Linked DNA regions of Homo sapiens: regions 1, 2, 3, 5 and 6 are each linked to region 4. Evidence: promoter capture Hi-C in 16 types of primary human blood cells and fetal thymus (Javierre and others, 2016). All regions are on one chromosome and are shown on one strand. The core of a region is centred on a gene start or on the middle of the fragment in contact, and the rest is flanking DNA. Distances in the headings are between cores, read along the strand shown.

Evidence for each region. The method cuts DNA at HindIII sites, captures the fragments that hold promoters and counts their contacts. A CHiCAGO score of 5 or more calls a contact.
Region 1: a contact is called between a fragment that was not itself captured here and the fragment with the promoter of IDH2 in region 4, in 2 of 17 cell types (M0 macrophages and neutrophils). The highest score is 6.8, in M0 macrophages.
Region 2: a fragment that was not itself captured here is called in contact with the fragment with the promoter of IDH2 in region 4 in 1 of 17 cell types (neutrophils); the score reaches 8.5 in neutrophils.
Region 3: a fragment that was not itself captured here is called in contact with the fragment with the promoter of IDH2 in region 4 in 1 of 17 cell types (monocytes); the score reaches 5.2 in monocytes.
Region 5: a fragment that was not itself captured here is called in contact with the fragment with the promoter of IDH2 in region 4 in 1 of 17 cell types (monocytes); the score reaches 6.3 in monocytes.
Region 6: the fragment with the promoter of ANPEP here is called in contact with the fragment with the promoter of IDH2 in region 4 in 2 of 17 cell types (neutrophils and M0 macrophages); the score reaches 5.9 in neutrophils.

Annotation. Positions count from the first base shown.
Region 1 is chr15:89,770,802-89,775,129 of GRCh38, reverse strand. It overlaps LOC124903550 (a long non-coding RNA gene), which reads left to right. Exons shown (of 2, transcript XR_007064751.1): 2 at 79-3,036. Among named protein-coding and RNA genes, the nearest start is that of MESP2, 3.4 kb to the left of the region's middle. The HindIII fragment of the contact is 5,176 bases long and covers 1-4,216 here.
Region 2 is chr15:89,788,453-89,792,839 of GRCh38, reverse strand. ANPEP (alanyl aminopeptidase, membrane) reads left to right here. Exons shown (of 21, transcript NM_001150.3): 17 at 278-388; 18 at 513-680; 19 at 1,747-1,887; 20 at 2,299-2,380. Among named protein-coding and RNA genes, the nearest start is that of MESP2, 14 kb to the right of the region's middle. RefSeq lists an enhancer at 53-553. The HindIII fragment of the contact is 1,043 bases long and covers 836-1,878 here.
Region 3 is chr15:89,714,080-89,718,639 of GRCh38, reverse strand. It overlaps WDR93 (WD repeat domain 93), which reads right to left. Exons shown (of 17, transcript NM_020212.2): 6 at 3,545-3,660; 7 at 1,691-1,729. It also overlaps the pseudogene RNU6-132P. Among named protein-coding and RNA genes, the nearest start is that of WDR93, 26 kb to the right of the region's middle. The HindIII fragment of the contact is 6,791 bases long and covers 1-4,560 here.
Region 4 is chr15:90,100,577-90,105,623 of GRCh38, reverse strand. IDH2 (isocitrate dehydrogenase (NADP(+)) 2) reads left to right here and starts at 3,156. Exons shown (of 11, transcript NM_002168.4): 1 at 3,156-3,348. The coding sequence starts at 3,234. IDH2-DT (IDH2 divergent transcript) reads right to left here and starts at 3,492. Exons shown (of 3, transcript NR_149130.1): 1 at 3,246-3,492; 2 at 2,172-2,244. RefSeq lists silencers at 2,946-3,405, 3,726-3,795, 4,286-4,375, 4,436-4,485 and enhancers at 3,020-3,874, 3,875-4,730. The HindIII fragment of the contact is 3,688 bases long and covers 1,784-5,047 here.
Region 5 is chr15:89,835,326-89,839,783 of GRCh38, reverse strand. It overlaps ARPIN-AP3S2 (ARPIN-AP3S2 readthrough), which reads left to right. Exons shown (of 10, transcript NM_001199058.2): 9 at 2,062-2,169; 10 at 4,141-4,458. The coding sequence ends at 4,269. AP3S2 (adaptor related protein complex 3 subunit sigma 2) reads left to right here. Exons shown (of 6, transcript NM_005829.5): 5 at 2,062-2,169; 6 at 4,141-4,458. The coding sequence ends at 4,269. LOC124903552 (a long non-coding RNA gene) reads right to left here and starts at 3,875. Exons shown (of 2, transcript XR_007064754.1): 1 at 2,839-3,875; 2 at 440-2,336. RefSeq lists an enhancer at 1,740-2,939. The HindIII fragment of the contact is 3,352 bases long and covers 1-2,952 here.
Region 6 is chr15:89,811,356-89,816,106 of GRCh38, reverse strand. ANPEP (alanyl aminopeptidase, membrane) reads left to right here and starts at 1,255. Exons shown (of 21, transcript NM_001150.3): 1 at 1,255-1,335. RefSeq lists cis regulatory regions at 872-874, 892-921, 920-923, 831-959, 1,211-1,216, promoters at 831-1,319, 165-1,319 and an enhancer at 1,187-1,686. The HindIII fragment of the contact is 11,363 bases long and covers 1-4,751 here.

The DNA of each region.
Region 1 (4,328 bases), core at 379-2,878, 330 kb after region 4:
GATTTCAAGGCACTAATGGACTTTATTCATTTAATTCATATTTATTTATTTATTCTCTTTTTTTTGTTTTTGAAACAGACTTGGTCTATCGTCCAGGCTGGAGTGCAGTGGCACCATCTCAGCTCACCGCAACCTCTGCCTCCTGGGTTCAAGTGATTCTTCTGCCTCAGCCTCTCAAGTAGGTGGGACTACAGGTATGCACCATCACGTCTGGCTAATTGTTGTATTTTTAGTAGAGACTGGTTTTTGCCATGTTAGCCAGGCTGGTCTTAAACTCCTGACCTCCAGTGATCCACCCGCCTTGGCCTCCCAAAGTGCTGGGATTATAGGCGTCAGCCACTGCGCCTGGCCGAATTCATATTTAGCAACCAGTAAATGTCGAGCACACAGGGTGAATGAGCTAGTCATGGTCTCTGCTCTAATGAGATTTCAGTCTTGTGGGAAAGAAAAGTGAACAGGCCATTGTATGACAGTAGCTGTATGCCCTTAGGCAGAGCCCTTAACCTGTTTGAGCTTGAGCTTCTGCTCAGTAAAACAGGAATAATGATAGTATCTACATGGGATTGTGTAAGGGATAGTTGAGATAGTAAAATTTATAAAGTAAATGATATTCTCAGCAACAATTACAGTTTAAAGGAGATTGTCAATGTCCTGTGTGGTCTTGGGGAAAGGGCTGAGTCCTGAGGCTAAGAGTCAAAAGAAGACCAGGGACATTAGGGTTCTGGCCACAGAGGTGAAGAAGTCATAGCTGGGCCTTGAACCATGCGTAGGATTTGAGTAGGGAGAGAGGCAGGTGCCGTGCTTTCCGGATGGGAACTGCATAAGCAAAGACCTGGCCTTGGGACCTTCCAAGATGCCTTAGGAGCAGGGCACTGGGGTGGTGATGTGGAAGGCCAGAGCACACCTGGGCTGGGGCCAGGTTAAGGAGTTGGTTTTGGGAGCCATAGGGACTTTTGAGCGGAAGGGTGATACAATTTTAAAAATCATTAGCTAATAACTAACTAAAGATCAACATGACAATGGTGTTCAAGAAGAGATTAACCTGCAGCAGCCTGAAGTAGCAAATGGCTTCGTAATTATTTAATCATTATTATCATTTTTTGTGGAGTTGGGTTTTACCCAGGCTGGTCTTGAACTCCTGGGCTCAAGTGATTTGCCCTCCTCAGCCTCCCAAAGTGCTGGGATTACAGGCATGAGCCACCAGGCCCAGCTGCCTTGTAATATTTTTGTGGCTGATTTTATTTTATTTTATTTTATTTTATTATTTGTTTTATTTTTGAGACAGGGTCTGTCGCCCAGGTTGGAGTGCAGTGACAGCTCACTGCAACCTCCGCCTCCCAGGCTCAAGGAATCCTCCTGCTTCAGCCTCCTGAGTAGCTGGGACCACAGGTGCACGCCACCATGCCTGGCTAATTTTTGTATTTTTAGTAGAGATGGGGTTTCGCCATGTTGGCTAGGCTGGTCTCGAACTCCTGGCCTCAAGTGATCGCCTGCCTCAGCCTCCCAAAATGCTGTTATTACAGGCGTGAGCCACTGTGCCCAGGCTTCATTTATTTTAATTTTAGAGACAGGGTCTCACTCTGTTGCCCAGGCTGGAGTGCAGTGATGCAATCTTGGCTCACTGTACCCTAAAACTGTGTTCAAGTGATCCTCCTGCCTCAGCCTCTCAAGTAGCTGGGACTACAGGCGCATACCACTATGACTGGCTAATCTTTTTTTTTGTTTCTTTCTTTTTTTTTGAGGGAGGGCGTGGCTATTTTCAAAAATTAACTTTTAATTACACAAATTATGTAACTACTACCTTTCACTGTGAGAAATGGAAACATTACAGATAAAGTTGGAGTCTCTTTAACCAACCCCATAAACCCCCAAAAGGTAACAGCTGTTATTAGGCTGTGTGTGTAGTTCCAGACCTGGCCAGTGGGTTAACATAAACGTGTATCCTTAGCAAACACACAGTAACCCTCCAGTTACATTATGTACATTGTTATGTGTAAATGTCAGCTTGTAATTTGTTTTTCTTCTTTTCTTTTTCTTTTTCTTTTTTTTTTTTTTCATTCAACAGCATGTTTCAGAGCATTCCATGTCAGGACATATTTTGCTGACTCACCCTTTAAAAAAATAATGGATCAAATTTTTAGTGGGGATAATCCCAGCACTTTGGAAGGCTGAGGTGAGAGGTTGGCTTGAGCCCAGGAGTTCAAGACCAGCCTGGGCAACATAGTCAGACCCCGCATCTAAGAAAAAAAAAAATTAGCCAGGCATGGTGGGGTGGGCCCTGTAGTCCCAGCTACTTGGGAGGCTGAGGCAGGAGGATCCCCTGAACCCAGGAGTTTGAGGTTGCAGTGAGCTATGATCGTACCACTGTGCTCCAGTCTGGCCACAGAGCAACACCCTGTCTCAAAAAAAAAAAAAAAAAAAAAGTACTGCCTGCGAATACAGATTTAACCAAAACCTTGGTTATAGTTGATCTAAATGTTTTAAATGTTTATCTCTTTAAATAATTTTTTTCTTTAGACAGGGTTTCACTCTGTCACCCAGGCTGGAGTGCAGTGGGGCAGTCACCGCTCACTGCAGCCACCACCTCCCGGGCTCAGGTAATCTTCCCACCTCAGCCTCCGGAGTAGCTGGGACTACAGATGTGCACCATCACTCCGGCTAAAATTTGTACTTTTTGTAGAGACAGAGTTTCACCATGTTGCCTAGGCAGGTCTCATACTGCTGGGCTCAAGCAATCCATTCGCCTCGGCCTCCCAAAGTGCTGGGATTACAGGTATGAGTCACTGTACGCAGCCCATGTAAATAATTTTAACTTTGGAAAAAAGGTAAAATGGCAGAAGGTACGGATACACCTTCAATAATGAAATTATGTCACTTTTTCTCCTCAGAATTTATTTTGAAATATATCGGAGAAAATATGCCCAAGTCACTGCTCTAACGTTATGATGAAGTAACACTTGGTGTTGAATAACTCTGGGCAAACAACTATCGTTTAGTTTATTCTAGCTGCTATGAATAAAGAAGAGAAAATTTTAATTGGTCCATAACATGAAAAGAAGGTGGGATAGATTTCAAACAGGCTTTCTTTGGAGAGAAGCAGTTAGTTATGGAACATTTCATGGCTTAAAAGGGTTTAAACCAAAATTTAAAAAAAACAACAACAAAAAACAACTATTTCCTAAGGGGAAATAAGGGACAACTTGTAAAACATTCACCCCTAGACTTTTTGGGTTGAAATAATGGCACATGTAGTGTAGGTACATCATTTATTGGTCCGAGGCCACACAACACTATAAAGCTCTTGACATACTGTCTATCAGGGAACTTGCATGTATCCATTCAACAGTTATAAACAAAATTCATCAGGCTTCATAGATATGTCTTGATCTAGGTGCTGCATTTCAGATAGAGCAGGTGCTGTTTCTATTGGTGTTTCTTTATTATTTATTTATTTTTTTTGAGATGAAGTTTCGCTCTTGTTGCCCAGGCTGGAGTGCAATGGCATGATCTCAGCGCACTGCAACCTCCGCCTCCTAGGTTCAAGCGATTTCTCCTGCCTCAGCTTCCCAAATACGTGGGATTACAGATGCCTGCCACCACACCTGGCTAATTTTTTGTATTTTTAGTAGAGACAGGGTTTCACCATGTTGGCCAGGCTGGTTTTGAACTCCTGACCTCAGGTGATCCACCTGCCTCGGCCTCCCAAAGTGCTAGGTTTACAGGTGTGAGCCACCACGCCTGGCTTCTATTGATGTTTCTGACTCACACCTTTATTTTTGTTTATTTTTTTATTTTTTGAGACACTCTCTCTGTTTTGTCCAGGCTGGAGTACAGTGGTGTGATCTCAGCTCACTATAACCTCCGCCTCCCAGGTTCAAGCGATTCTTGTGCCTCAGCCTTCCAAGTAGCTGGGACTACAGGCATGTGCCACCGTGCCCGGCTAATTTTTGTATTTTTAGTAGAGACAGGGTTTCACCATGTTGGCCAGGCTGGACTCGAACTCCTGACCTCATGCAATCTGCCTGCCTTGGCCTCCCAAAGTGCTGGGATTACAGGCATGACTCATGCCTTTTAACTGCTATATGGTAGTCCATGGCATGCACAGCCACTTACTGATGCACCTTTATTGTATTTTTAGTTTTTGCCCAGCAGTGCTGCTTTGTGCATAAACAGCTAGGAATACAGTGGTGGATGGTCTTGTGATCTCCAGGAAGCTTCTGAATATCCAGAATTATTTCCCCCCAACCTCCTTAGAGCCAGCCTGAGGGATTTCTTGTGGAGGGATTTGGTATATAATGGGATTCCACCACAGGCACAGAGCCCTGCAC
Region 2 (4,387 bases), core at 108-2,607, 310 kb after region 4:
CCAAACTGAAACTCTAGCTCACCCCACTGGCTTGAGGTTATACAGTTTCTAGGTGTTGAAACTGGGGCTGGAGCCTGTTCCTGCCCTTCTGGGTCACAGGGCTGCTTTGGGGACCAAGGAACCTCAGGCCCAAGGCACAAAGCACATACAGCGGGGGTCAGAGGGCCAGTTAGGCCACAGAGCCTTAGGCAGGGTGCCGGCCTGGGGTTGTGTGTCAAGAGGTGAATCTTGGCTGGAGTTCGCCAGGTGTGCTAACCGCGTGTCACCCCTGGGGCAGGTACAGCGAGGTTAATGCCATCAGCACCGCCTGCTCCAACGGAGTTCCAGAGTGTGAGGAGATGGTCTCTGGCCTTTTCAAGCAGTGGATGGAGAACCCCAATAATAACCCGTGAGTGTCTCCCCTGCGCCTCCTCTGCCAGTCTTCATCTGCCCCCAACAGCCCCGTCCTCAGCAGAACCCTGTCCCACCCTCCCCGCTGCTGTTCCACACCTGACCTCCCTACCCCACACCAGGATCCACCCCAACCTGCGGTCCACCGTCTACTGCAACGCTATCGCCCAGGGCGGGGAGGAGGAGTGGGACTTCGCCTGGGAGCAGTTCCGAAATGCCACACTGGTCAATGAGGCTGACAAGCTCCGGGCAGCCCTGGCCTGCAGCAAAGAGTTGTGGATCCTGAACAGGTGAGTCTTGGCGCAGGGTGGGACTGCGAGAGCCCTCTCCCCACCTGGAGAACCAGGCAGGCCTCCACACTCCTCGCCAGATCCTTCACGTGACCCCCACAGACCTGTTGAGGTGGAGGCAGTATTTCCAAAGTAACCGGTGCAGACTGGAAGCTTTAATAAGTGATAGAGACAAGATATGGACTCAGGTCTGGGTCCATGTCCTCTGTTCCTAGCTGCTGTGGCCTCTTAGCCTTTACCTGACAACAACTCGTCTTCCCTTCTGTCAAAGGCTCTGGTGTAGCTGGACCTGGGTCTTTTCAAACATCCAGCTGGGCACCCCCTCAAGCCCTTGGATGAGGGTCCCCACCTCCCACCATGTGCCTCATATGCCATTACCTGGATGCAGTAAAGAAGAGCCACCCTTGGGCAGGGTGTGGTGGCTCATACCTGTAATCCCAGCACTTTGGAAGACTGAGGTGGATGGATCACCTGAGGTCAGGAGTTCGAGACCAGCCTGGCCAACATGGAGAAACCCCGTCTCTACTAAAAATACTAAAAATACAAAAAAAAAAAAAAAATAGGCATGGTGGCACATGCCTGTAATCCCAGCTACCCGGGAGGCTGAGGCAGGAGAATCACTTGAACCTGGCAGGCGAAGGTTACAGTAAGCCCAAATCGCTCCACTGCACTCCAGCCTGGGCGACAGAGTGAGACTCCGTCTCGAAAGAAAAGAAAAGAGAAAAGAAAAGAAAAGAAAAGAAGGGCCACCCTCAGTGTCAAAGACGGGAGTGACCACCCACCTGGTGCCAGGGCTTGGGGCGCTAGGACTCCTTCCTTCATTGATTCATTGTCAAATATTTCTATGTCAGGCATGACACTAGCTTAGCCAGTGACCCTGTGACCCTGCTTAGGTGACTCAGTTTTCCATCTATAGAGGGAAGAAGGACCAAGGGGTCCCTCAGCCCCTGGCAGGCCGAGGGGATGTTGAGAGGATGCAGGCATAGGTGATGTGCGTGGGACAGTCCAAGTTCTCTCCTGAGTCACCTGAATTAGCAGTAGCTGAGACAGCATCTGGCCCTCTTAGGTACCTGAGCTACACCCTGAACCCGGACTTAATCCGGAAGCAGGACGCCACCTCTACCATCATCAGCATTACCAACAACGTCATTGGGCAAGGTCTGGTCTGGGACTTTGTCCAGAGCAACTGGAAGAAGCTTTTTAACGAGTGAGTCTGTGGAATGGGTGTCAGGGACAGCGAGCGCCGAGGCTGGGGCCCCGGGGGGTGGCCTGTGCGGGTAAGACACGCCGGGGGCACTAACCAGAAGTGGACAAAAATCAGCCAAGCCTGGGGGCTAGGGTGGGGCAGGAATGGAAAGACAAGCTGGGGTATGGGCCGTCCCTTTTCCCATTTGGAAGGAAAACGTGGCGTGTGGGCGTATTCTCCAGAAGAGAGGGGAGTGAGGAACTCGGCAGTCAGACCTGTGTTCAAGCTGTGACTCCCCCACATCCTAGTGGGGTCTCCCAGGGCGTGTCATTTCATCTCCTCTATAATCATGGCTCCCTACCCAGTAGGTGTGAGGATGAGCCTCCTTAGTTCCCGGCCTCCCTCACAGTTCACCTCTCTCCCTCCCTGCAGTTATGGTGGTGGCTCGTTCTCCTTCTCCAACCTCATCCAGGCAGTGACACGACGATTCTCCACCGAGTATGAGCTGCAGCAGGTAAGAAGTCATTCCCCAGACCTGGGCTCTGCCTACTTCCTTCCCAGGCCAAAGGGGCACTCCATTCTTCTCCCACGTGGCCCTGAGGGAGCACAGGCTCCACGCCGCCAGGCCTTCCTCATTTACAGAGGAAGCCGAGTAGCCAGACTTTGGAAATGTTGATAATTCAATTTAAAAAATTCATCTTGGGATTTTTGTATAGGCACAAAAGGGAAGAGTGGTATAATGAACCTCCATGTACCCGTTACCCAGGTTCAACAATTATCAACATTTTGCCAGTACTTTTTCCGGGCGGGCAATTTTTAAGCAAATCACTGATCATGTAATTTTACCTCTAAATAATTTAGTCATATGAAAAATAAACGCATTCTTTTATTTTTTTTATTTTTTATTTTTTTTTTGAGATGGAGTCTTGCTCTGTCACCCAGGCTGGAGTGCAGTGGTGCGATCTGGGCTCACTGCAAGCTCCGCCTCCCGGGTTCACGTCATTCTCCTGCCTCAGCTTCCTGAGTAGCTGGGACTACAAGTGCCCGCCACCGCGCCTGGCTAATTTTTTTGTATTTTTAGTAGAGATGGGGTTTCACCATGGTCTCGATCTCCTGACCTCATGATCTGCCTGCCTCGGCCTCCCAAAGTGCTGGGATTACAGGCGTGAGCCACGGCGTCCAGCTTTTTTTTTTTTTTGAGACTGAGTCTCGCTCTGTCATGCAGGCTGGAGTGGTGCAGTGGTATGATCTCGGCTCACTGCAACCTCTGCCTCTGGGGTTCAATCAATTCTCCTGCCTCAGCTTCCCGAGTAGCTGGGATTACAGGCATGCGCCCCCACACCCGGCTAATTTTTGTATTTTTAGTAGAGACGAGGTTTCACCATGTTGGCCAGGCTGGTCTCGAACTCCTGACCTCAAGTGATCCACCCACCTCGGTCTCCCAAAGTGCTGAGATTACAGGTGTGAGCCACTGCGCCCAGCAATAAAGGGATTCTTAAAACATAATCACACTGTCCTTAGCAAACCCAGGAAAATGATTATCTTCTTACTATCATATACCCAAGGCATATTCAAATTTTCTAAGTTGTTTATAAAAGGTCTTTTTACAATTGATATATATGCTTGAATTAGAAGCTTGACAAAGTCAACTTGGATTAAGTTAGTTTGTCTTTTTTAAAAATTGAGATATAATTTGCTGGGCGTGGTGGCTCACACCTGTAGTCCCAGCACTTTAGGAGGCTAAGGTGGGTGGATCACCTGAGGTCGGGAGTTCCAGACCAGCGTGGCCAACATGGTGAAACCCTGTCTCTACTAAAAATACAAAAATTAGCTGGGTGTGGTGGGGGGTGCCTGTAGTCCCAGCTACTCGGGAGGCTGTGGCAGAATAATTGCCTGAATCCAGGAGGCGGAGGTTGCAGTGAACCAAGATTGTGCCACTGCACTCCAGCTTGGGCGACAGAGTGAGACTCTGTCTCAAAAAAAAAAAATTGATATATAATTCATGGACCATCAAACTCACCATTTTAAGTGGTTTTCAGTAAACTAACAAGGTAGGGTGGGTGGGGTGCTTCATGCCTGTAATCCCAGCACTTTGGGAGGCCAACGCAGGAGGATCCCTTGAACCCAGGAGTTTGAGACCAGCCTGGGCAATATCATAAGATCTCATCTCTAAATAAATAAATAAATAAATAAATAAATAAATAAATAAGCTGGGCATGGTGGTGCATACCTGTAGTCCTAGCTACTCAGGAGACTGAGGTGAGAGGATCGCTTGAACCAGGAAGGCAGAGGTTGCAGTGAGCGGAGGTGGTGCCACCGCATTCCAGCCTGGGTGACAGAGCAAGACCCTGTCTCAAAAAACCAAAACCAAACCAAACCAAACAAACAAACAGAAAAAAACCATGTGGTACAACCATCACTACTGTCTAATTCCAGAACATTTTTATTACGCCAAAAAAAAACCTTGTACTCATTAGCAGTCACTCCTTATTCCTACCTGGTCCCCTCAGCCCCTGGCAAC
Region 3 (4,560 bases), core at 1,355-3,854, 390 kb after region 4:
TATTATTTTTTGTGAGACAGGGTCTTGCTCTGTCACTCAGGCTAGAGTACAGTGGTGTAATCTCGACTCACTGCAGCCTCCACTCCAGGGCTCAAGCCATCCACCCACCTCAGTCTTTTGAGTAGCTGGGACCACAGCCACATGCCACTACACCTGGCTAATTTTTTTTTTTTTTTAGACAGCTGTCTCCCAGGCTGGAGTGCAGTGGTGTGATCTCGGCTCACTGCAACCTCCGCCTCCCGGGTTCAAGCGAGTCTCCTGCCTCAGCCTCCTGAGTAGCTGAGATTACAGGCACACGCCACCACATCCGGCTAATTTTTGTATTTTTAGTAGAGATGGGGTTTCACCATGTTGGTCAGGCTGGTCTCAAACTCCTGACCTCGTGATCCACCTGTCTCGGCCTCCCAAAGTGTTGGGATTACAGGCGTGAGCCACTGCACCCGGCCATTTTTTGTATTTTTTGTAGAGGCAAGGTTTTGCTGTGTTGCCCAGGCTGGTCTCAAATTCCTGAGCTCAAGAGATCCTCCTGCCTTAGGCTCCCAAAGTGTTGGGATTACAGACATGAGCCACCCCACCTGGCCTAATGTAACTTTGAAAGGGAAAAAAGAAGGGGCTCTAGCGAGATACTTCCACTTCAGAAGTTCACCACTACTCTACTGACACGCCTGAGTCCTCCAAGAGCCATGCTTTCTGAAGACATGGTATGTTCCTGGTCTCAGAGGAAGAGCCAGGAAGCTCCAGGGAAACTGCTCTGTTCTCTAAGGTATTCCAAAACAAACACAAAACCCCCAAGTTACTCGGCTTGGTGAATTGGGCTGTTATTTTGGTAGAGGCAAATCCAGGATTCATAGGACCCTCTTTTAAGAAAAAGAAGACAGAACTATGAACACAAAATGCCCATGGCCACTGTAATTCCATCTAATATGGAGGAAATTGTGACAGAGGAAAGCTAGAGTGAAGAGGTAGTGGAATTAAGTGATTATGGTTACAATATGTTACCTTTGCTAATTTTACAAAAATATATAACCATATGAACACATTGCTAGGGCCCCTTCCAGGGGCCCAAGTGAGGGGCCCTGAAATTTAAGCTCCCTTAACTTCAGGTAAACCCACGTCTGGCCAAATGACTTGGGTCAACTGTCCTCAGGGACGGGAGGTCATCTTCAATGGATATGAGGCACAAGATTAAGTCACTGAGAATTGAAAATAGTGCCCAGGTGGAACATTTCATTAGCATATTTGACATTTAGGGTAAATTTCAAGTAAAAATCAAAATCTTGGGCCCAGTGTGGTGACTCACGCCTATAATCCCAGCACTTTGGGAGGCCAAGGCAGGCAGATCACCTGAGGTCGGGAGTTGAAGACCAGCCTGACCAACATGGAGAAAACCCTGTCTCTACTAAAAATACAATATTAGCCGGGCGTGGTAGTGCATGCCTATAATCCTAGTTACTCAGGAGGCTGAGGCAGGAGAATCACTTGAACCTGGGGGGCAGAAGTTGCGATGAGCCAAGATCGCTCCATTGCACTCCAGCCTGAGCAACAAGAGCAACAAGAATGAAACTCTGTCTCAAAAAAAAAAAAAAAAAAAAAAGAAAGAAAAAGAAAAGAAAAGAAAAATAATAATTTTTAAAAAATCTCTAAAATACAAACTTAAGTCTCTCTGGAGATTTTCTTTAAAGTTTCTTACCATTTCTAAAGGATCTGCAGAAATGGGACCAAGGGAGTTCTGAGAAGAAAAATGAGAAATTAATTCACAATAGGTTTGATGTATGTTTACCACCCCCTTTAATCTTCTGGCATGCTCTCTCTTCCCCTCAATTACTCTTGTGAGTGAATTCATGCAACAGATGTGGAGGGCCAGTATTTGTGTGGGCCTCTGGCCTGCAGAACTTCAACACACGATCCCTATTTTTCAGGATCTTAAAAGGTAGGTGGGGAAACAGGAAATAGTTAATAACAAGAGGAAATCTGAATGAATAGAGTTGAGGAGATCAGTCAGAACACCATTACAAGAATCCAAATTGAGGCAAATATTTCTGATTGGCAAAACATATTGGTGATGTTGAGAATTACATTTAAGTAACTCTAAATATAATTCGTAGTAAAAGAACTACCACTGTAACTGGCATTCATTGGCTGCTTCTCAGTGTATGAAAAAGAAGTGAATTATGGTGAGAAACCACCCCATTCAAGGTGCTTTTCCTATTTGGATAACAAATTAGTCCAAACAAAAATATATCTTTTTGAGTACCAAGTATGATACTATGGAATTTGTTGATAAAAAGCAGAAGGTATGATCTTAACAATCTAGAAATTTATTATCCATTGAAGACAAGAGGATTTTCATGTATAACAGGATAACTACAAACCTAGGCAGTATGTGAGAAGTGTCAAAAAATACATACAAATAATAACATTCTGTAATAGCTTAGAGGAGGAATATCTCTGGGCTAGTAACTTTCCCAGGGACATAGGACTACACTCCATTATGAAGATATTCACTGGCCATAAAGGCATTTATTCAAAGCCACTTGAGCTCAGCAGTGAATGTAACTCTCAATCTTGGTCTCCTATATTAATAATTTCACTAATTTATTTAGCACCTAATACAATGTATTTTAAAGGGATGCTCAGTTAATATTAATATATTAATGTTGGTGGTTTAAAAGTAAAAATAATAAGCATACACTGTATAAATAAGCAAATTAAGTCTTAATATTTACTGAGCAACTATATCTTAAAAACATAGCACAGGCCGGGTGCGATGGCTCATGCCTGTAATCCCAGCACTTTGGGAGGCCGAGGCGGGCACATCACGAGGTCAGGAGATTGAGACCATCCTGGCTAACACAGTGAAACCCCGTCTCTACTAAAAATACAAAAAAATTAGCCTGGCATGGCAGCGTGCACCTGTAGTCCCAGCTACTCAGGAGGCTGAGGCAAGAGAATTGCTTGAACCCGGGAGGCAGAGGTTGCAGTGAGCAGAGATCGCACCACTGCATTCCAGCCTGGGCAACAGAGCGAGACTCAAAAAACAAAAACAAAAACAAAAAAACAGCACAAGGCCCAGTCATCATATATAAATAAACTGAAATGGTAGAGTTTCTACTTTCTAAGGATAATAGAAAATATATATATATTTCTGTATATTGAGAACAACCTCTTTATACCATAGTCTGGAAAAATTTAATGGAATTTGAGGCATGAAAAGATTATTTCAGCCAGGAGGGAAAAAAAGATTACCAGTGAAGCAGGAGTCAGGACAAAAGACCCTCCTTCCAGAGAAATGCCTGGGAGTGGTCTCAGTGGAGAGGCAACTCCCAGACTAGAGATACTGCGATTCCCACTACTGAAGACACCTCTACTTTTTAATATCTTATTTTAACCAAAGGAAATTGACTTGGGAGACAGGGGCCAATATTCCTGTTGTCCTCTCTTATAGCCCAGAGGCCTCATTCACCATAAGTTTCCAAGGACTTGGGCTAGATGTGGGTCAGGGGTAGGGAGAAACATATCAGCTGAAAGCAGAGATATTTCCTACCAGTTGCGGCTGTCTGACTTTTTTCTTTGGATTTGAAGTGAGTTGGGGGTGCTCTAGTTTCTTGAGCCAAGTCTCCTTGGGCAATTTATACACATCCAGCCAAATATCTCCGGCTCCTGCATTGGGAAACCAGAGAACCATTGAGCAACTGTAAGAGAGCCACAAGTTTCCTCTGAGAAATGGCCTGTCTTCTTCTTAGAACTGCTGGCAAAGAGACCAGCCACCTCCATACCAGGCAACTTTGACATACTGAAGGAGAAGTAGTTCTGCAATGGTTATTGCAAGTCCTCATGCCCCACATAACTTTCCCATGGAGAGTTATCCCCTCAACCCACCACCACCTATCTAAGAGAAACAGGGGCTTCTCACACTAACAGCACTCATGCAACAGCTTTTTAACCAAATTGTTCTGCCCAGCCCCCACATTTTCTTTGTTGCAAATGGTAAATTCCATTGACATTAAAAAAAATATGGGGCCGGGCATGGCGGCTCACGCCTGTAATCTCAGCACTTTGTGGGGCTGAGGTGGGTGGAACACCTGCAGTCAGGAGTTCTCAGCCTGGCCAACATGGTGAAACCCCATTTCTACTAAAAATACAAAAATTAGCCGGGCATGGTGATGTGTACACCTGTAATCCCAGCTACTCGGGAGGCTGAGGTGGGAGAATCACTTGAACCCAGTGGGTGGAGGTTGCAGTGAGCCGAGATCAGGCCGTTACACTCCAGCCTGGGCAACAGAGTGAAACTCCATCTCAAAAAAAAAAAGAAATGCTTCATGAATTTGTGTGTCATCCTTGCAGAGGGGCCATGCTAATCGTCTCTGTATCGTTCCAGTTTTAGTATATGTGCTGCTGAAGTGATCACATCCACTGACATTTTGCCTTCAGTTTTACCTGTCTGGGGAGGAGGGCAGCAAATACAGAATCAGCAACTGAGAGAAGTGTGTCTGAGGAAGGGTTAGAATTGGGAAAGATGTACCTAAAGAATTCTTCTGACCAATATTTGAGGAGATAACA
Region 4 (5,047 bases), core at 1,907-4,406:
CAAGCGTCATCTACACTCCTCTTGGGACACTTTCTTTCTTTTTTTTTTTTAAAATAGAGATTAAGGTCTCACTCTGCTGACCAAGCTGGTCTCAAACTCCTGAGCTCAAGGAGTTTGCCTTGACCTCCCAAAGTGCTGGGATTACAGGTGTGAGCCACCACGCCCAGCAGACATTTTTCTCTTGTGCCTGGGTTTATGGTGATTGTATACATGTGTGTCTGGCTCCCAGAGGGTGGGGACGGAGTGATACAAATTTTTGTGCCTCCACAGGGAACTTGCACGTGACCTAAATTCAATGACAAATTGGGGTTTGATTGAAAATGTGGAGGGGTGGAAATTTTCAATTCCACTGACCCCAGATGGGAGGATCTGAGCCCCTTTCCTTTAAACACCATCTTTCTCTGCAGCAGCTTTCAGGGCCAATAGTTACCATCACCAGGAATTCCAGACCAGCACAATAAATAGGGGCTGTGGTTTCTCCCTCTTTCTCCTTCAAAAAGTAACAGAAAAAAAATTAGCCGGGCATGGTTGCATGTTCTTGTTGTCCAAGCTACTGAGGAGGCTAAGGTGGGAGGATCACTTGAGCCCGGGAGGTCGAGGCTTCAGGGAGCCATGATCATACCATTGCACTCCAGCCTGGGCAACAGAGTGAGACCCTGTCTCGGAAAAAACAAAAAAACAGTAATGGAATATGGGCCAGGTATGTTGATTTGAACTGGAGTTTTACTGCTTCCCAGCAGTGTGACATTGAGCAAGTGTGGTAACCTCTACGAGCCAAATGGAGCTGGCATCAGCTGCCTCACCAAACAGGATTTACGGGAAAGGCTGGCGTGGAGCTGGGGCCCTGGGAGGCAGGTAGTTAGAATCCGTTTAAAGATTTTGCCTCAATTGCCTCCAGCTGCTGCTGTGCTTACAAGGCACACAAGTGCTCCCCCTCTGATCCCTCAGCAGGCAAAGACCAGACTCTGGAACACACCTACAGTGCTGCCTCTGGCCAGGCCTCTGAGATATGAGTCCAACATGCAGAGAAAGGGGCAAGTCCTTGGTGGGGGGAGGGGGACAGCAATTTCATTACCGCCATTTCAGAGGTGGCAGTATGGGTGGCTGACATACGTAAGTCTGATTGTTTGGACCAGAAGGATCTTCAGGGGTCCAGTCTTCCAGTTTACAGGTGTGGACATTGAGATCCAGGCACCTGATAATACCAGGTTGGCAGGAAAGTCAAATGCCAGAGGCTTCCATGGTCTCTACTTGTGTTTGGAGCAACAGAATTCTGAACAGAGTCAAAGGGATAAGGGGTCTTTCTGGCACAAGCTGGCCCAAGACCAGGCCTTTGACAGAGGCCTCAGACTCTGGGGGGCCCAAAAGCAGCCCTCCCTTGGGCTCAGCCTTCTGGATCCCATGGCCAGAGTAGTAGTTCTGCCGGCTAGGACTTGGTGAGGGGAGCTTTGAAGTCACTAGTTGAAGGTCACCTTCCTGGTCCAGCTCCACCTGGCAATGTTGACTGTGAGGTAGTGGAGGGGAGGGCTGAGAACACAGAAGAGAAAGGTTGCTCCTATTTGGAGTGAATTAGCGTGACTGGGAAAGCAGAGAAGGGAAAGAGGTCAGGTTTTTCCAAATAAAACCCAGCCCTCAGCTGGTGTCTTAGTTTAAGAAAACAGATGAAGAGAGAAACTTTGTTTGTGGCAGAATCAATTACAACTGTCTTTTGTGGCCAGGTGCAGTGGCTCACACCTGTAATCCCAGTGCTTTGCGAGGCCGAGGCGGGAGGATCATTTAAGCTTAGGAGCTGGAGACCAGCCTGGGCAACATAGTGAGATCCCCCCATCTCTATTTTTAATTAAAACAAACAAACAAACCCATCTTTTATATGCAAACAGGCAAAAATGGAACTGTTTCTACTGTGGCTGTTTGACTACTCTAGGGTCTCAGAAAACAACACCCCAAAATGCAGGCCTCAGGAGCAGCTCTCTCTGACCCTCTCCCTCCCTCCTGTCTTTGGCCCCTCACTCTCCTCCGAGGCCAGCCATAGAAACTGGAATCCTTCTTCCTCAAGGCAGGTCATAGAAACCAGAGCCCTTCTCCCCCAAAGCCAGACATCGAACCCAAAAATATTACTCTTTCTCCCACACATTTCTGGGTAAAAACTGGCCATAAATTATCTGACCTACCTTGTTTGCTTGCAGGTCCTAAGACCCCTCCATCCCAGAGAGAGTCCTGCCCCGTACTCAGAAGGAAGGAATGCTGCAGAGAAAGGTCAAGAAGAATCTACACGGACAGGACTTGCTGGGTTTCCCCACTCAGGTTATTGGCCTTCTGGTCCAATCATATTTCTTTTTTCGTGGTTTTTTTTTTTTTTTTTTGAGACGGAGTCTCACTCTGTTGCCCAGGCTGGAGTGCAGTGGCATGATCTCAGCTCACTGCAATCTCTGCCTCTCAGGTTCAAGTGATTCTCCCGCCTCAGCCTCCTGAGTAGCTGGGATTACAGGCGCGCGCCACCATGCCCGATCAATTTTTGTATTTTTAGTAGAGACAGGGGTTTCATTATGTTAGCCAGCCTGGTCTCGAACTCCTGACTTCAAGTGATCCGCCTGCCTCGACCTCCCAAAAGTTCTAGGATTACAGACGTGAGCCACCGCGCCCGGCCCAAAGTGAGATTTCAACTCTCTCTACACCAGCTGGACCTGACAGCGGACTCGCGGAGGCGCAGACGCCGCCGGCGGTCTTAGCTCAAGAATGAAGCAGCCGCACTGGGCTAATGCGCCTTTGGGTTCAGCCCGGCAGGCGAGGGAAGCAAGAGTTCGCTCAGATTGGCTTTTGGGTTTAAGCTAAAGCGTCAGAAACTGACATCCAGGTTTACATGGGGCATCCTGGAGAGGGTCAGCCTCGCAAGCGGCTCTGCTAATCCCCCAGCCCTGATCCCGCTCGCGGGTCCCGGTGGGTCTCACGCCTGTAGCTCCTGCGGAGCTGGGCTTTCAGCGGCGCCCAGAGAAGCACCAGCCGGGCCTGGCCGCCGGGTCCCGGCTCCCGCGGGACGCTGGAGGCGTCGGCGGCCCTGGCCCCGCCTCCTCCCCGGCAAGGCCCAATGGGGCGGCAGGCCCGGCAGCCCCGCCCCGGTGGTGCCCGCGCGGCCAGCGCCCGCCAGGCCCAGCGTTAGCCCGCGGCCAGGCAGCCGGGAGGAGCGGCGCGCGCTCGGACCTCTCCCGCCCTGCTCGTTCGCTCTCCAGCTTGGGATGGCCGGCTACCTGCGGGTCGTGCGCTCGCTCTGCAGAGCCTCAGGCTCGCGGCCGGCCTGGGCGCCGGCGGCCCTGACAGCCCCCACCTCGCAAGAGCAGCCGCGGCGCCACTGTGAGTGCCGCGCGGAGGGTCCAGGCAGGCGCGCGCCCCCAGCTGCGACGTGGCGGCTTCCCAGGCTGGGGCCGGGAAGCACGTCCCGCCAGCCCGCAGCCCGGGGACGGCGGGGTCAGGCGCACAAAGGGCCGCGGGGCAGCTTCGCTCCGCGCTCCCCCGCCCGGCGCTTCCCGGCCGTGCCAGGCGCTGGGGTGGGGACTTGAGGGACGGTGGCAACTGGTGGCCCGGGCGACGGCCAGCTCTGCGCGGGCGGGGGCTCGGGGCTGCCGCGCGCCCCTAGGTATTTCGGGAGGGGGTCCTGAGAGTGTCCCGGACCCGAAGGGTGGCCTGCCCGCCCTGCGCCCCTGGAACGAGACGAGCACCCGTGGGGGGCTGGAGCACCCCGCGCGCTCCCCTGGCGAGAGGGAGGGTCGTGGCTCGGCCCCTGCTCAGACAAAGGCTGGGAGGCGGGAGACATGCACTTCCCCTTCCTTTTCAGCCAGGCGCGCGCTGATACCAGGCCCACGTCAGCTATTTTTGGAGCCTTTTACACGACAGCTGGAGGAGCGTCCTTTTTAATTTTCCCCTTTTGTTTGGCCGCCCCCACCCCCACCCCTTCGCCTTCATCGCTGCACTTGAGGCTCCATCCTGGGGCCTCTCCTTGACTTGACCTGCCTTGGCAGGCACATGCCCTCCCTGCCTGGCTCACTCGCCGCAGAGACCTGGCAGCCCGCGCAAAATGTCACTTTGCGGAATCGTTCCCACGGCTTCTGGGTACCCTTAGTTCCCTGCTTAGGAGGGAAGACAGTAGTCGGGTCGTAATAAGCAAGACTTAGCCCGAGCCTCCGTTGCCAACGCAGGCTGCCTTGCTTGGCGTGTGGGCATCGGCCTGCCCCCTCACCCTGGCTACCCAACACAGCTACAAAAGGCAGGGAACAATGTAGGTCCCTTGGCCCTGCCTAATGCCTGTTGCCATGGAAACCCCTATCCTAATCTGGCCAGGAGCCCCTTGCAGTGAGCCAGGAGAGTGAGGAAGAGGGGATGGGGCCCGCTGGCCCTGACCTGGCCAGAGGAGGTAATGGTTAACCGGATTGTGGGAGCAGCTGACTAGAGCCGGGGGGGTAGGGAGGCTTGGGCCCCAGTCCTACCTTCCCTGCCAAGGAGAAAGGGGCATGTCTGCTTTTGTACCTCTGGGAATCTACCTCAGGGATCTGCCCAACAACTCCCAGGTTCCAAGTGCCCCAGGACCCAAAGATTCCCATATAGCACACCACCTTCAGCAAAAATATGGTGGAAGTTAGCCACATTCTTTAATTCTCCCTTTTTTTCTGCCTTGATGGTAAAAAAAAAAAAAAGAAACAAACAACCCGAAAAACACACACAAACAGGAACACAAAGCGCCTTTTAAGGGTCCTGAATTTGGATACAGAAAAAGCAGTCAGTTGCAGGCCCTTCTAGAAGTCCCCATGTGGGTTGGTTATGAATGGGGAAATTGCTTGGTGTTGGAGTTGGACATCAGACTCTACAGTTGCGACTCTGCCAGCTTGTTACCTGGCAACGCAGCTGGAGACAGAATACTTGGCATTCCCCTTGATGACAAGGAAAGAATATTTTGGGGCTAAAAGAGCCCCGTGTCTTTGCTGCCTGGTAATTCCTGCACGCATCTTTTCCTATTTTGCAACGCCATAGGCTTCCAGCGACTGCTGGTGATGTTTCT
Region 5 (4,458 bases), core at 27-2,526, 260 kb after region 4:
CAGTCGTCTGTTCATGGACACTTGGGCTGCTTCCACCTTTTGGCTGTTGTGAATAATACTGCTATGAACATGGGTGTACACATTCTCTTCAAGTCTTTACTTTCAGTTCTTTTGAGTGTATATCCAAAAGTGGAATTGCTGGGCCATATGGTAATTCTGTTTTTAATCTTTTTGAGGAACCACCATACTGTTTTCAGAGGCCTATTTCTTGATGGGGAAGTATAAACAGTGGAATTCCCCCAGGGAATAATTTTAAAACCAGTCTTGTTTAACATTTTGTAAATTATCTAAATATGAGACTTTTACCATTAAATCTTCATTTGCATATAGCTAATGAATAATTCATATTGTATAAAATGTAAGAACACCTCGTGAGAGTGTGTGTGTGCGTGTGTGTAGACAGAACAGTGGTTAATAAAGCTCAATGTGGGCACACACGCAAGGGAATACATTTGATTTATTATACTCTGTCCTCAAGATCAGAAGTTCCCTGCACTTACTGAGGGCAAAATACAGGGAGCCAATGCCAGAGAACTTCAGATGTCAGAAGTGCACAGTGCCCAGATATGCAGACACATCTTTCTTCTTGACTCTGCATTGCTGACAGAGTAAACTGGTGGTTGACTCTAGACTCTGGACCAGTGGTTCTCAGCTGGGGTGAATTTGCCCCCTGGAACACATATGACAATTCTGGAGACATTTTTGATTGTCAAGCTGGAGGAGTAGAGACCAGGGATGCTAGAGAACAGGCCACAGTGACAGGACAGCCCCACAGCAGAGGATTATCTGGTCCCAGATGTCACTAGTACCTAGGCTGAGAAGCCCTGCTCCAGACCCAAATTACCTTCTCAGCCTTGTCTTAGCCTCTCTCCTGCATAAAGAAAGTTGCCATCCCAGCCAGACCCAGGAGCTCCCCATACCTGCCCATACACCAGCTGAATTGCTCCTTCCAACATCTTCTACCTGAAATTCTTTCCCCTACCTCTCTAATGTCAGAGCCCAGCTTCCATCCTCCCACTGTCTCTGTGAAGCTCTCTGATCTCTCTAGCCACTGTACCCTTTCTTCTCTGACTTCCCCAGGACTATCCCAGTCATTTGGCACTTAGTTAACAATAGAAGGTTGTACTTGCTGTCTTCCCAACTTGACCGAAAGCACCTTGAGGGCCATTTGATGTGATTTGGTTTGAAATATGGAGTACCATTCCTTATGAACCACAGTGGGCATCTCTGCTTTGACCCACCCAGGGCTTTCTGTGACAGCTTTCCTACCACAAAGGGGTACAGTAGTTGAGTCACCTCCGTCCCATCACAGCAGTTAGGTACACTGAGATTCAGCTTTGTTTAGATGACTGCTAGCTAGATGGAACCTAAGCCCAAATGTGACCCTTATGCTTAGAAAGGTGTTTATGCTGAATCTGCTTTCTAATCTAAGCAGTAAGAAATGAGGTGAGGAGAGGTGCAAAGGAATTGGGCTCTATCTTGCTCTGATCACGTCCCTTCAGTGGAGCACAGGCTGGAGGATCTGCCTTATAGAAGGTGGAAGACATTCATTTCAGTTGCTTGGACAGGGATTATTCTGTCATAGCTGGACCTACTTAATGACAGTCAGTGTTGATGATGGTAATATTAATAATGAAAGCCACCATTCCTTACTTAGAACCCAGTGTGTCCTGGGCACCAGGCTAGGTGCTTTACACACATTTATCTCATCCAGTCCTCACTGCAATCCTGGAAGGAGGCTGAAGCACTTTAAAGGTCATTTGCCCAGGGCCACCCAGCTAGCAAGTAGCAGAGCCAGAATTTAAACAAGAGCTGTCAGACTTTGAAGCCTGTGCTCATAGCTACCACCTCGCTGCTGAGGGGAGAGATTCGTGTTGCCATGTGCCAAGACCTGGGAGAGACCCCTCGTTGTGTCACTGGGCAGGGGGGTTTGAGTGTCTGAGTTGTGAGTCAGGACAGGTCATATCTGACCACTCTGCTGCTGCAGGAAAAGGAAACCTCGTGGGTTACACTCTGACCACCACAGAGTATTCTGACTCCTGATTTTTGCTTCCCTTTTAGGTGCACTACATCCTCCAGGAGGTGGTGATGGGTGGGATGGTGTTGGAAACAAACATGAATGAAATCGTGGCTCAGATTGAGGCTCAAAACAGGCTGGAGAAATCCGAGGTGAGTAAGCAGCTGTGCTCTAGCCCTGGCTGGGTAGAGAAAACCTGGGCAGAGGCAGGAGTGTGTACATGTGTTGGTTTGTGTTGCTGTGAAACCTCGGGAAATGATACTCATCTTCTTTCTTCCTTGAGTCCATTGAAACTCATGGATTTGAAGGTCAGCCAGCCCTGAAAATTAAACAGGTAACAAGTTTGAAATCTCAGATTTTCAGGGTAGAAGAGCAAATAGAAAAGCCAGATGGCAGAGGAAGGCAAACAGCTTCTGGCTTGGGGGTTATGGCCCATGTTTGTGGTTTGTAATTCCTCCTTTGAAAGCCACTCGTTCCCTGGAGGGACCCAGAACCCTCTTCCCTAGTCCAGTGTGGTTTCCTAGTTTGTGTGCTCTAAGAGTCTGATCTCCCAGCAGCCATTTCTCGTGGTGTCTTTCAGACCTCAGAGTTGCCAATTTCCTTATTTCCAGTTAGCTTTATAAAAAACTACAGTAGAGTTTGGGCTAGGCTTGAAAATAACATACCCCAGTCCACCCCCACATGGTGCTGGGCTTGATAGAGATGTTCACATAAATTCTGTCCTATCCCTCTGAGGTCTCGCCGTCCCCTTCCTCAGCCTTCCCAGAGCACAGAGGTTACAGACGTATACTTTCACATGCAGAAATAGCAGAACAAATTACCTCTTTAATTATCTGAGTGTCTTAAAGAGCTTCTTTGCCTTGTATACGGAACTTGATCTTGCGAAACCAGGAATTCTTCTTTCTGTGAGGACTGGCAGTCCTGTGGAAGAAGCTTTTCCAGACCACAGCTATTGGTGGCAGCTATAGTTCTTTTAGAAATGTAGGCTGGGAAGATTCCAGGAATAGTAAGTGAGTCAGAGGCAAGGGGGTTGGAAATGAGAAGAAATGGAGACTTGCTGGGTGAGGGCAGAAGCAGAGTTGGTATCCGGAAAGAAGGCAATAGGGGAAAAATGATTGTGAGAGAGTTTTCATCCACTTTTGCCGTTCCCTCCACGTGGGGGTGAGCCTGCCAGGTGGGGGTTCACTGTAGATGTGCATACTCTTTGCGTTTTGTCACCAGCTCTTCTTTATCTGTGATACCCCCCACCTTCTCCCAGCTTGTTGCCACATGACACTTCCAAAGCCAGCTCTTTTCATCTCACATTATTAGTTGGCAAGCAGTTGCCCTAGAGCTGTGACTGTCCTTTTCCTTTTAAGAACTTCCCGGTGACTTTGCACGTTTCAATAAGAGTCTTTGGTCTCTTGAGGAAAGGGTTTTGTTTTGTTTTGTAACCAGAAAAGTGCCCCTGACAAATCACCTTAGATTATTTCAGCATTTATTGGGTACCCACCATGTGCCAGGTACTGTGAGAGGCTGGGGCTGTGAAACTGTATAGGCCACACTCCGCCTCTGAGGAGCTGGTAGTCTAGTAGGACTGCAGGCTTTGGATCCCTGTGCCAAACCCCATCTAACCTCAAGATTGTTTTGTTGGCTACTTTTGAGGAATAAGGGGGGAAAGTTAAAACTTCAGTTGTGTGTGCTCAGTTTGGAATTTTTCTAGGCATCCTTCACCTGTTATTTTGTTTGTTTGTTTGTTTGAGACAGAGTCTCACTCTGTTGCCCAGGTTGGAGTGCAGTGGCGTGATCTCAGCTCACCGCAACCTCCGCCTTCTGAGTTCAAGCGATTTTCCTGCCTCAGCCTCCCTAGTAGCTGGGACTACAGGGGCCCGCCACCACTCCTGGCCAATTTTTGTATTTTTGGTAGAGATGGGGTTTCACCATGTTGGCCAGGCCTATCTCGAACTCCTGACCTCAGGTGATCCACCCACCTCGGCCTCCCAAAGTGCTGGGATTACAGGCGTGAGCCACCACACCCATCCTGCTTGTTTGTTTTTGTTTTTGCTTTTTTTTTTTTTTTTTTTTTAGCATTAAGCAGATAACAGTGAGAATTTGTCTCATACTCGCCTCTCATTTCTTCTTAGGGTGGCCTTTCAGCAGCCCCTGCGCGGGCTGTGTCTGCTGTGAAAAACATCAACCTGCCAGAGATTCCTCGGAACATCAACATTGGCGATCTCAACATCAAAGTTCCCAACCTGTCCCAGTTTGTCTGAGGATCAAGTATTGGCCTGAAATAGAGTCCTTAAGACAAGCAAAGACAAGCAAGGCAAGCACGTCTGGAAACAGAACCCATTTTGAGCCTTAGAAGAGTCAAGCCTCAGGACCTGGAAACTTTGTGTCTGGGGAAGACTGTTTGGCATGGAATAGGGAAGGGATTCCTATTGACACTGCTCGGGTGCACC
Region 6 (4,751 bases), core at 6-2,505, 290 kb after region 4:
CTGGATTATCTGGGTAGGCCCGATGTAATCACAAAGATGCTCACCAGTGGAAGCAAGAGGCAGAACAGTTGGTGTCAGAGTGACAGATTGTGAGAGACTGGTGGGCCACTGCTGGCTTTGAAGATGGATGGGGCCACCAGCCAAGGAATGTGGGCAGCTTCTAGAAGCCAGAAAAGCCAAAGAAACAGGTTCCCTTCCAGCCTCAAGAAAGCTGTATCCCTCAACCCCCTTGCTTTTAGTCCAGCGAGACCCATTTTGGACTTCTGATTTTACAAAACTTGTAAGATAGTAAATTAGTGTTGTTTTATGTTTGTGTTACGGCAGCCACAGGGAACCAATACAAATATTATCTGGTACCGCCCATTAAAGCTGCTCAGAGACAGGGAGCCCCACCCTGGCGGGGCTCCGGTGGCTGCACAACCTCTGCAAGCAGGATCAAGATGAGAGGCGCAGGCCAGGTGTGGTGGCTCACTCCTGTAATCTCAGCACTTTGGGAGGCCAAGGCGGGCGGATCACTTGAGGTCAGGAGTTCGAGACGAGCCTTACATGGTGAAACCCTGTCTCTACTAAAACTCCAAAAATTAACCAGGCGTGGTGGCGTGCACCTGTAGTCCCAGCTACTCGGGAGGCTGAGGCAGGAGAATCGCTTGAACCCAGGAGGAGGAAGTTGCAGTGAGCGGAGAAAGTGCCACTGCACTCCAGCGTGAGCGACAGAGCGAGACTCTGTCTCAAAAACAAATAAAGGAAAAAGAAAAAAATGAGAAGCGCGTGTTCCCGACTCCGGTGCTTTTTCGCAAGGTCGTGCTACTGCGCCTTCTGAACTACGAGTCCCAGGTACCAAGAAAGTTGAATTGCGTGCTGTGGCGGGTCCGTTATCTGCACCACCCGTCTGCACGGGATGCGCTGGCTTCCTGCCCCGGATGCACAAGGCTCCCTGCGGGACACTCAGGGCGAGGCTCTGAGCCCCTCCCCCGCGGCAGATGCCGTCCAGATGTGGCCGGCGGGTCCCGCGGGCTGCGGCGACAGGGACCCCGTCGGGGGCAGCAGGAGCCCTGGTGCATCCCAGGCCCCGGGGGGAAGGCCGGGCCGTCGGAGGAGCGGAGGAGCCCTGGGGGGCTCCCGGGAAGCCGCGGGCGGACGGGGGAGGAGCCCGGGCGGAGCTGCGGGCGGGCGGCCCGCTAGGGGTGAATCGGGTGGAGTAGTGGTCGGGTCCGGTTACTTCCCTTTAAAAAGACGGGAAAGGAGGAGTCCAGTGCTGGAGGGGCAGGGACGGCGGCGGCGCAGCTCGGAACCCGCCAGGGTCCAGGGTCCAGGTTCCAGCGCCCGGCGGCCCAGGCAAGTGGGGCGGGAGGGCGGGGGCTGCGGGCGCGGGTAGGGGTCGTGGGGCAGTTGGGTGCGCGGGAACCGAGGGAGCTGCAGACCCAGCGCTTGGCGCGTGCGGAGCTGGACTTCTGCGGCCGCGACGCCCCTCTTCCCAGATGGGTAAACTGAGGGCCAGGGAAAGCGAAGAATTCTTTTGGCCGAGCTCCCACTACGATCTCGCGGTCAAGTGGGTCCCCAGCGGGCCTCGCAGGGGTCGGAGGGGCTCCCATCTGGGGAGGGGGCCCCAGGGTGGGCGAGGGCGACGGGAGCCTGGGGAGGACGGACGGGGAGGGCGGCGGAGCGGAGCTAAGCTGCGGCGGGTGGACCCGGCTCGGCCGCGGCCACTCTGTCCCTGGTGGGTGGGGCGCGGCCGAAGGCAAAGGGCGAACCCGGCCCGCCTGTGGGGTCTCTGGCCAACACTGGGCTCAGAGGCCCTTTCTTTAACCTTAGATCTCGCTCCTCGGTCTAAAGCCTCCGCCGCAGCTCTCAGTGAAGAGGAAGGGGAACTCTAGGTGCTCAACGCCCGCGTTACAGTCGCGTTCTCCCTCGCTCCTACAACCCGGCCAAGATGCCGGGGCATGGATGGGGACCGAGGTTTGGGGGTTGTGGAGCCTATTCCACGCCCTCCCTGGTGAGCAACTGAGACAGATCCAGGGCCCCATTGCAATCCACTCTTGGTCTGGGAAAAGGTCCCCTAAACAGGGCCAATGGGATCCTTTCCCCAAATGACTCCAGAACGCACCCCCCCCCCCCAGCAGTGCGGTGGGCAGGGACGGCCCAGGTGGGCTATGTCCTGGGGTTTTGTGACTGGATCCCCACTCCTCCCCCACCTCAGCCCCTGGACTGCAACCCACCAGGCCGTGTTCGGGGGTGGTCAGAGCCCTGGTCTCAGCCAGACCTGAGGTCTGATGTGGCTTCATCCCTGAGTCTCTAAACGCCCTGGCCTTACTGGGCCTCAGTTAATTCACCTGTGAAAGGGGAGGCTTGGACCAGAGGGCCCCTCAGGGTATGTGTTTTGTGGAGGGGAGGTGGGCGTGTGGGGTAGGGGTGACCAGGAGGAAGTGGGGACAGCCTCTGTCCCACAGGAAGGCTGGCTAGCCCCAGTGGGTATGGGGGAGCTGGGCAGGGAAGAGGGTGGACTCCCCTCTCCCTGTGGGAGGGTGTGCTGGGCCCATGAGGCCCTCATCCACTCTCAGCCACCTTCCTGTGGAGCCCTAGCCTCGAAGGCCACACTATGAGTGCAAGGAGGCCACCCACAGCGCTGCTCCCGCTTCACAGGTGGGGAAACCGGCCCAGTGTCTTGAGGCAGCCCAGCCGCCTGCCCTGTGCTTCCCCCAGAGCCTTCTGGGGAATGAGACCTTCGTTACACGCTGGCGCTCCTTACACCCCTACAGCCTTTAAGCTAAGGCCTCCAGCCCCATCGCTGTAAGAATTGTATGCTAGGCATTCTGAGGACATAGATGGGGGTCCCCATGTCGGAAGGAGCCAAGGTGTTGGAACTGGGTCCAGTTCCTGGGCTGGCTCTGGTGGGAGATCTGGAACCCTATGCTGGGGCTCCTGGACAGCCCTGGAGGCATGGCATGGACAGTGTGTCAGCCGCACACCGAGGCCCTGGGGTGTCCTTATTCACATAGGCTGGCAGCCATCTATCCCTAGCCCGGGCTTCACCCCGGGTGCCTGTCACTCCTGGCCCTACAGTGGTCCCAGTCACACCTTGGAGGCAAGATGTGGGTCCTCCACAGGCCTGTGTCTGGAAGCAGCCCCCAGCACTCCCTGGCTAACAAGTTCTACTTCTGAGAACTACCCCCAGCTCCCAGCCCTGGTCTGGCCAAATGGGTGCGTGTCTTCTCCTGTGGTCTTCAACTCCCCTTGGCACGGCCACAGTAGATGTGAGGGGCTGTATGGGAGGACATTTTTAGGAGGCATATGTAGTTAAGCTGTGGAACCTGCTGCTAACTAGCTGTGTGGCCTTGGGCAAATCACTTAACCTTTCTGTGCCTCAGTGTCCTCATTTGCCAAATGGGGGTGATTATCCTGGTAGGGCACATAGTAGGTGCTCAGTTTCACCTACCATGTGTCTCACCAGGATAATCACCCCCCATTTGGCAGACAGGAGTTGCCAGGCAGGATCTGTGGCCCCACACAAACCCTATGTGTACTTCCCCCACCCACAAATGCCTCTGCTCCTTCCTCCTGTGTGCCCTGCATTGGGCTGAAGAGGCTGATGAGAGGCAACTTCCCATTGGGGCCTTCTGAGGTTCTTGCAGGAGGGGCAATGTCCAAGGCTCCCAGAGGAAGCACCCTGGGGTGATGCAGCTATGGGCGGAGGCCTCAGAAGCCTGGGAGAAAGCCAGGGGCCTGCGGGGACAGAGTGTGCCCTGGCCCAGGCCCAGCCTCGTCCCTACCCTTCTCGCTCACTGCTCCCTCAGAGCAGACAATGAGCCCCAGGTTGTCCCTGAGCTCCCAGTCTCATAGTTCACAGTCAGGGACACTGAGTGGGAGTGGGTGGGGCCTACCCAAGGACCCAGTGGTCGGGGATGGAGCATGGATAACACAGCAGCTCACCCGGCCACGGGTGCTCAGCTCTCCCGGCCACAGCCCCTCCCAGGCTCCTGGAGTCTTCATATTAGAGTAGAAAGCCTCTTGCACTTCACATCTGAGACCAAGGAGCCTCTCCCCACCCACAAGTGTGGGTGTCTTCCACACTGTGACTGTGACTTAGTTATGCCCTGGCATGATCGTTGTCAACCTTCATGTTTTTTGGTTTTGGCTTTGGTTTTAGTTTAGAAGAACTTACGTTTTCTGGACTAAAACATAGGCAGGGAAGAAATACATAAACCCATAGAAAGGCTGCTTTAGTTGAAGTGGGTTGAGAGCTCGGCTTCTACCCCGTCAAGAAATTCACAGCGAAAGGAACACATGCATTTTGCTCACTGGCAGAAAGAGCCTGCACCAAAGACAACCCGCAGGGCCAGCAACCCCAACATCATACAGGGTGGAGCAGCAGTTCCCAAAGCGGGTGCAACTGGACAGGATCCTTTTAGGAGCTACCTAGAGGAACAATTTTTTCTTTTTTTCTTTTTTTTTTTTTTTTTACTTGAGATGGAGTCTCACTCTGTCGCCCAGGCTGGAGTGCAGTGGCACGATTTCGGCCCACTGCAACCTCCGCCTCCCGGGTTCATGCCATTCTCCTGCCTCAGCCTCCCGAGTAGTTGGGATTACAGGCGCCCACCACCACGCCCGGCTAATTTTTTGTATTTTTAGTAGAGATGAGGTTTCACCGTGTTAGCCAGGATGGTCTCGATCTGCTGACCTCGTGATCCGTCCGCCTCAGCCTCCCGAAGTGCAGGGATTACAAGCATGAGCCAACACGCCCGGCCCAGGAACAA